2 separate regions of the Homo sapiens genome follow, and region 2 is linked to region 1. Evidence: promoter capture Hi-C in human tissues and cell types (Jung and others, 2019). All regions are on one chromosome and are shown on one strand. Each heading gives the region's core, a stretch centred on a gene start or on the middle of the fragment in contact. The rest is flanking DNA. Distances are from core to core; before and after follow the strand shown.

Region 1 (4,049 bases), core at 502-3,001:
GCAATCTATTTCTTCTCCCCCTCCTCCTGAATACAGCCTCAGGCAGCCAACCACTGATCAGCTATTATTATAGATTAGTTTTGCCTGTTCTAAAATTTCTTTTCTTTTTCTTTTTTTTTTTTTTGAGACAGAGTCTTGCTCTGTCACCCAGGCTGGAGTGCAATGGCGCGATCTTGGCTCACTGCAGCCTCTGCCTCCTGGGTTCAAGCGATTCTCGTGCCTCAGCCACCCAAGTAGCTGAGATTACAGGTGTGCGCCACCAGACCCAGCTAATATTTGTATTTTTAGTAGAGACGGGGTTTCACCATGTTGGCCAGGCTGGTCTCAAACGCCTTGACCTCAAGTGACCCACCCGTCTCGGCCTCCCAAAGTGCTGGGATTACAGGTATGAGCCACCGTGCCTGGCCTAGAATTTCTTATCAATGGAATCATACAATATGTATTAATTTTGTGGCCTTTGAGAAGTTTTTTAACTGTAAATTGGCTTTATAAATTAGCATACCTTTGAACTCACATAAAGGATGAAGGTTGAATTAGGGTAATTAATCTGTACCTCCCTGAATTGGTTTTGATTCCAAAAATATATACTAAATATAGTTTCCTGTTCCCTATTACAATAGAGTTCATATTTACTACAGTGAAACTATCATTTTCCACTCAGTTGAGACGTTACAAGACTTTAAGCCCCATGAAACATTCTATTTCGTGACCACTGTATACCCAGTGCCAACACTGTCTCACACATAGTAGTTGCTGAGTAAACATTTGTTGACTGAATGGATGTATTTCCCCTGAATTGCTTCTACATGTCTATGTTAGATGACTGGGGTGCTTTTATTTTTTTAGAGATAGGGCCTCACTTTGTCTCCCAGACTGGAGTGCAATGGCGCCATCATGGCCCACTGCAGCCTCCAACTCCTGGGCTCAAGTGATCCTCTTGTGTCAGCCTCCTGAGTAGTTGTGACTACAGGCGTGCGCCACCATGTCCAGCCAATTTTTGTACTTTTTGTAGAGACGGGGGGTCTCACTATATTGCCCAGGCTGGTCTTGAACTCCCGGCTCAAGCTATTCTCCCGCCTCAGCCTCCCAAAGTGCTGGGATTACAGGGATGAGCCACTGTGCCCAGTCGGGATGCTTTAATGTTAGAAACTTAATTACCTTGCGTTTTTAAAGGAATGTGTGAGAAGTGCCCTATTCTGCCTCAAGTGATGGCAGAGGGTGGAGATTGAGACTGGAGGAAGCCCTGTGCAGTACATATCTGTAAGTCATGAAATAGCATCATTTTCCTTGTCTGGTCATATTAAAACGGTGATTAAAAAATCAAGAAAATAAAATCCCACTAGCAGTGTGTCCGAGAATCTTTGTTTACCTCCTCCCTATTGTTATGTCATGACATGGAGCCCAGCTGGGGAATTCTGAATACTAGGTTCTAAAACAGGATTTGTCATAAACGAATTGCTTGATCCTGGACATTCACCTCTAAAATAGACACCTGACCTCGGTGTGTGTGTGAGTGTGGTGAAAATCAAGTGGGAGGGAAAGTGAGCAAGCACCTGAACAAGGTACAGAGGCGCGCGAGGTAGTACCATAATACCATCTACACCAAGGTCTATACTATCCCTGGTCTCCGCTGCGTCCGCCGGGAGGAGGCGGTGCAAGAATGCGCACGCGCGGCCCCGGGCCCGGCCACACCCTCTTCCGCCGCTCCCGCCCAGCGACCTCGCTCCCGGGGCGACGCCCCGCGTGCGCCAGAGTCGCCGAGGTCGTCCCCGGCACCGGAAGTGACCCTGGCGGGTTTGTCTTCAAATTCTCGGCGAGCAGGAGCCGCGCCGGCAGGTGGTGTTGACGATTGAACTGGGCAGTACTGGGGCCGTGAGCGGAGAGCAAAGTGGGCTGGACTGGGTCAGGCCCTCCTTCCTCGCTGCCGGGATCTCCACTCCGCCAATCCCCTGTGCCTGGCGTTGGGCGGTTTCCCGAGGAGCTTGGGCCGCCGCAGGTGAGTTTTCACTCTGGCGGTGCTCTGGGGACCCCCGATTTTCCAGGGCCGGGCTGGTGAGGGACTCGGGGGGCCCACAGCGAGAACCCGCCGCGCAACCCTCCGTGAGCCTGCCTGTGCCTGAGCTGAGGTCCTAGGTCCTTGCTGTTGTCCACGATAACTTGGCTTAGGTGACAGTCCCCCTACCTGAGGAATCCTGTCAGGCGGAGGACTTTTCGGGGGCTCCTGTCGATCCCATCTTTTGATCTGTGTCGTTAGCGAAGTCACCAGCCGAGTTTTTAGTTCTTCGATTTTTCGACTGGTTCTCTCCAGAACCCGCTCACGCCCCCCACCCCGAAACCCTCACAGGTAAAAATCCCGATGGCCATGACATTGGGAGGCAACTTCTTTTCTTAAAATTTGTTAGGTTCGAGTGATATTGTTGGGGATGTTATTTCTTATTTATTCTAGAGCCCGGCGTCCTCTGGAAGGCCTGTGGGCCTTTTGGTTTAGAGTTGGTACCTTTTAGAAAAGTTTTCCCTCGAAACAGTTGTTTCATACAAATGTGATGACAAAGTTAGAGATAAACGTAGATCCTGAAGTGCCTTACAGTGGATAATCTCAAGCTCTTATTTAATCAAAAATAGTTTCCTGTTAAAACCGCGAAGGGCCGCTTTTATATTAGTTACTAACTTCCAACAGCACAGTGATGCTCTTTTCTCTTGAAAGCACTAATTTACGTCTTCCTCTTTGAAATTAGACCTCTAGTTATTGCTGAAAACATTCCCGATGTTTTAGAATGGGTGCAGTAGATCTTTGTCACGTAATCACAATGATAATCACCTTAGTAGATGTTAAGACAGATTCTTGAAATGTTTTTACGGGCTTAAATGTCTCAGTATAAAGCCCTATTTTCTTTTCCAAAAGAGCTGGGTTTTGTTCTTTTTTTTTTTTTTTTTTTTTTTTTTGAGACGGAGTCTTGCTCTGTCGCCAGGCTGGAGTGCAGTGGCGCAATCTTGGCTCACTGCAACCTCCGCCTCCCGGGTTCAAGCGATTCCCCTGCCTCAGCCTCCTTGAGTAGCTGTGACTACAGGCGCGCTCCACTACGCGCGGCAAATTTTTTGTATTTTAGTAGAGATGGGGTTTCACCATGTTGGCCAGGCTGGTCTCGATTTCCAGACATTGTGATCCGCCCGCCTAGGCCTCCCAAAGTGTTGGGATTACAGACGTGAGCCACTGCGCCCGGCCGGTTTTTGTTCTTATACCAAGAAATAGGAGCAAAACTTTGTTTTGTATTAACATTAACAAGTTGTGGCCTGTAAATACCTTTAAAAAAAAAAACACGCAGTAGTGATCAACTTCCCAACATTCCTAGACTATGAAAAGCTATATAAAGCTTCTTTATAGCGTTGGTTATTCAAGAAGCGTTTACATTTTTATAGGTAATAGGCATGCTATGTAGTCCACAAGGGATTCTCCACCTCATTTTGAAACTGGTATCAAGATGCTGACAAATATTGAGGATTAGAGAATCTTGTTGAATTCACTCTATTAACAACATTGTTGAATTTCTATTAACAATAGTTTGGGTTTTTTTAGCCACTTGACTGTTTAAAAAAGATAGTATTATCACATAAATATGGTCAGTGTTGATAACATGCCAAATAGCTTTTGCTTGTGGCGTTTATCGATAGGGCTTGAATATGACTTTTAAATTACGTTTTAATAATTAAACTCACTGATTTGTTTGTTTAGGGTAAACTGAAAGTTTACTGTACAAATAGAGTGGACTTTATATGTACTTTTTTTCTGAACAGGTTGCTTTTTGGTGTTTTTAAAAAATAGTGGTAACTTTCTTGTGCTTAAGTATTTATCATATGATGGTTATAAAGGTAAGAAAAATGTATGCCATGCTGTAATTGGTCATGGGTCATTCATTTATTGTGCTTATTCGTAATCATCAGTGGCTGACTATAAATTAGCATGTGGTTTCTTTCATATCCCAGAGATGAACATTCTGAAAATTACTTACCAATGTATGGCCACTTTTGAAGTCATATACACTTGCTTTACT
Region 2 (4,060 bases), core at 538-3,037, 51 kb after region 1:
CCAGGACACATAGCCTTTCCTTGAAGTCAGATCATTCTACATAACCTCAGTATGTGGGAAGAATCAGTCTAGTCACTTTTGCTTGGTGTGGCAACAGACTGAAGTTTAATTTTTGTTGATGTAGGTGCTTTTGATAGATGCTTCCTAAAATTTTAGTTGAGAATTTTCTTGGATGTTTTAATGATGATGAAGTTCACTCTTTCCCTCTCTCCATTTGTTGAAAAAGTACAAAAATATTTATACATAAAGACCCAAGTATTGACTCTCTTTAAAGATGAAATTATCCCACTAGGTACAGTGGCTCATTGTAATCCTAGCATTTTGGGAGGCCGAGGCAGGAAGATTGCTTGAGTCTAGGAGTTTGAGACCAGCCTAGGCAACATAATAAGACACCATCTCTACCAAAAATATAAAAATAAGCCTGGTGTGGTGGCACACACCTGTAGTCCTAGCTACTCGGGAGGTTGAGGTGAGAGGATTGCTTGAGCCCAGGAGCTCAAGGTTGAAGTGAGCCAAAATCATATCACTGCACTCCAGCCTGGATGACAGAGCAAGACCTTGCCTCTTAAAAAAAAATAAATAAATAAAAAACGGTTCATTAGAAGCCATATTTTAGCTGTTCTAATTCTATCCCATCTCCCCAGTATTAGCGTGAGAGAAAGATGCACAGTGTGGCAGGCTCCTTAGCTGTTTTGTTGTTTTCTTTCTTTCCTCTTGTTTTAGAGACAGGTTCTCACTCTGTCACCCAGTCTGGAATACAGTGGTGTGGTGTGATCATAGCTCACTGCAGCCTTGAACTCCTGGGCTCAAGGGATCCTCTCACCTAGCCTCCTGAGTAGCTGGGACTCAGACACGTGTAACCACACTCAACTAATATTTTAATTTTCTGTAGAGATGGAGTCTTGCTATGTTGCCCAGGCTGGTCTCGAACTCTTGGGCTCAATCCATCCTCCTGCCTCACCCTCCCAGTGTTGGGATTACAGGTGTGAGCCACTGTGCCCAGCCTCCCTCAGCTATTTTCTGATTGCTAATCTGTAGATTATTTTAAAATGAAATAATAGCTTAATAGCTTGATATTGCATGGTTTCTTCCTTTAGGCTCGATTTTATTCTCCAGCCACCATATTTATTGATGAGATAGACTCCATCTGTAGTCGCCGAGGGACTTCTGAAGAACATGAAGCAAGCAGAAGGGTGAAAGCGGAGCTGCTGGTTCAGATGGATGGTATCTGTGTTTAGCTTGAGTTGAACAGGGACGGGAGGTTGTTAGGTGTGGTGTCTCCAGTTCCAGTGGGTCAAACTTTACTCATAGTGCTAACCCAAGCTTTTAATAGGTATTCTTAACTTCAGATGGACTAGAGGGGGTGGCAAGAAGTTCCTGATAGTGATAGTAATAGATTTGGTACACTGACAGTGGTGACAAGTCAGAATTAATGGCCACACACAGGGCACCCTTTTGGTATATACAACTATCTTACTTTAGCTATGAAATTGAAATAAAAATAAATGCAGATAAATTGGCCTTAGAGTTTATGTACGCTTTGAAAAAGATTTAAAATTGTTATGTATTTGAGATCTGGCTTTTCGATTAAATCTATTTTGAGTCATATATTTGCATACTACAGAACTCATTTTCTTTGGATTACAAATTCACATAGGTACCAGTTAACCTAAGTCTTAAGGAGGCATTAAGACTGTGCTTCCTTGTATTGTTGTACTAAATAGTTGTTGATCTTTAAATAGCTGAGCTTCATTTGGTATAATCCAACTTAATATCTTTTTCACTCTCCCCTTACCCTTATTTTAGGTGTTGGAGGTACTTCTGAAAATGATGACCCTTCCAAAATGGTTATGGTTCTGGCAGCTACTAATTTTCCCTGGGATATAGATGAGGCTTTAAGACGACGCCTTGAGAAACGAATCTATATTCCTTTGCCGTCAGGTATCTTCCTTTCAATCTTGTCAGAAAGCCTGTTAACTTTCATGTAGTTTTGTTTAGAGAATTTAAAATTTGTTATTAACTAACTTTCTGGAAGAGATACATGAGGAGTATCTTCCTTTACAGTACTAGTTTGGCTATATGCCTTAATACTAAATAGTAAGGAATTAAAAAGTAAAGAATGGCTCTTTACTTAATTATCTCTTCTTAGAGATCCAATTCTTACTGGAAGACAACATCTCACACAAAGAAGATTTGAGACAATAGTATACTATGTTTATGCTGCAGGCTTACATTTTAAAATTTGTTTCTACCATTAGCAAAAGGCAGGGAGGAGCTATTACGAATAAGTCTACGTGAGTTGGAATTGGCTGATGATGTTGACCTTGCAAGTATAGCAGAAAACATGGAAGGTTATTCAGGTGCGGACATTACCAACGTGTGCAGGTATGAATTATCATGGAAGCATAGGTTTTTGTAAGCATAAACTTCTAGTATGAAGTTTTTTGGTTTTGTTTTTTGAGACACAGTCTCGCTCTGTTGCCTAGACTGGAGAGTAGAGGCGCAGTCACAGCTTACTGCAGCCTGAAACTCCTGGGCTCAAGTGATCCTCTGACGTGAAGTTTTTATGCTGAATTAAGACAGATCAATATCTTGGTGGTGGCTCACGCCTGTAATCTCAGCACTTTGGGAGGCCAAGTGGGAGATCACTTGAGCCCAGGAGTTTGACTGGCCTGGGTAACATTGCAAGACCTCATATCCATGAAAAAAATTTTAAAAATTAGCCGGGCATGGTGGTTCCCACCTGCTCAGGAAGCTGAGGCAGGAGGATCGCTTGAGCCCAGGAGTTTGAGGCTGCAGTGAGCCATGATTGTGCCACTGCACCCCAGCCTGGGCGACAAAGCAAGACCCTGTGTCCAAAGAAAAAAAAAAAAGATGAATAAAGACCCACATTCCAGTTTTGTTTTGTTTTTTGAGACGGAGTCTCGCTCTGTCACCCAGGCTGAAGTGCAGTGGTCCGATCTCGGCTCACTGCAACCTTTGCCTCCTGGGTTCAAGTGATTCTTGTGCCTCAGCCTCCCGAGTAGCTGGGATTACAGGCATGCACCACCACACCTGGCTAATTTTTGTATTTTTAGTAGAGACGGTGTTTCACCATGTTGACCAGGCTGGTGTCGAACTCCTGACCTCAAGTGATCCGCCTGCCTCAGCCTCCCAAAATGCTAAGATTACAGGCGTGAGCCACCATGCCCGGCCCCACATACATTTTGTAGTCAGGGTCACAAATTCTGGTTTTGTTGGTGTTAGCAGGTGCTGGTAAGATATCTGGTATCTTTCATGTCAGTGAAGAGTCTACAGTTCATTTGAAAGCTACAAGTTCAAGAAGCTAATGTTAGGATAAATTGTGTAAAATAGAAAATCAGTAATTGTCTTGGATTAAATAAATTGTTGGTGCCTTTGTTCACTATATTATAAAATACGAAATGACTGTGAAATATATTGACTTGGCATATGCACAGAATACAGTCTCATTCTCAGTGAACTTATCCTAAATGTGACAGAATAGCAGTAAAAAGAAAAAAAGAATGTCTTTAATCCAGCTGGTTCAAGTAGGTTTTGTCCTAATCTAAGTATTAGTAGAGACACTTAATTAACCAGGGGCTTGACTGCGCTCGTTTCCTCCTTTCTAAAGTGAGCATACCACACAGGGTTCTGAGGATTAAAGCTAAAGTGTATACATCAAACAGCTCTATTGCTATCCCTTTGCATAAATGGTGGCTGCTATTAAGGATAAAACTTGGTAAAAGGCAAGAGCTGTTTGAATCTGAAGTTTTGTTTTTTTTTTTTAACACAAATGAGAAAAGGAGAAACCCTGAACTTACCTAGCTTTTCCTCTACATGGAGAAAATATTTAATTTTCTTGTTAACAGTTTCTCTTCTCTTCTGACTCTGTGATGCTTATTCTTCATTTTATTGAATAGTTATAATGAAATTCAAATTGCTAGCTTTAACCCCACTTTTACTTTTTCTGGGATTTTATATTCAGTATTAATTATTTAAATTAGCATCCTTTTTCATTACAGAAGATTTAACTGCTTAAAAATCAATCACAACAGGCTTT

What was found. The method cuts DNA at HindIII sites, captures the fragments that hold promoters and counts their contacts. A contact is called where the count stands out against the background at its distance.
Region 2: a contact is called between a fragment that was not itself captured here and the fragment with the promoter of KATNA1 in region 1, in 1 of the 25 tissues and cell types used here (liver).

Annotation. Positions count from the first base shown.
Region 1 is chr6:149,646,416-149,650,464 of GRCh38, reverse strand. It overlaps KATNA1 (katanin catalytic subunit A1), which reads left to right and starts at 1,751. Exons shown (of 11, transcript NM_007044.4): 1 at 1,751-1,996. RefSeq lists a silencer at 1,532-1,801 and an enhancer at 1,872-1,951. The HindIII fragment of the contact is 16,640 bases long and covers 1-4,049 here.
Region 2 is chr6:149,595,388-149,599,447 of GRCh38, reverse strand. KATNA1 (katanin catalytic subunit A1) reads left to right here. Exons shown (of 11, transcript NM_007044.4): 8 at 1,098-1,224; 9 at 1,807-1,941; 10 at 2,259-2,385. Among named protein-coding and RNA genes, the nearest start is that of GINM1, 31 kb to the right of the region's middle. The HindIII fragment of the contact is 3,845 bases long and covers 1-3,709 here.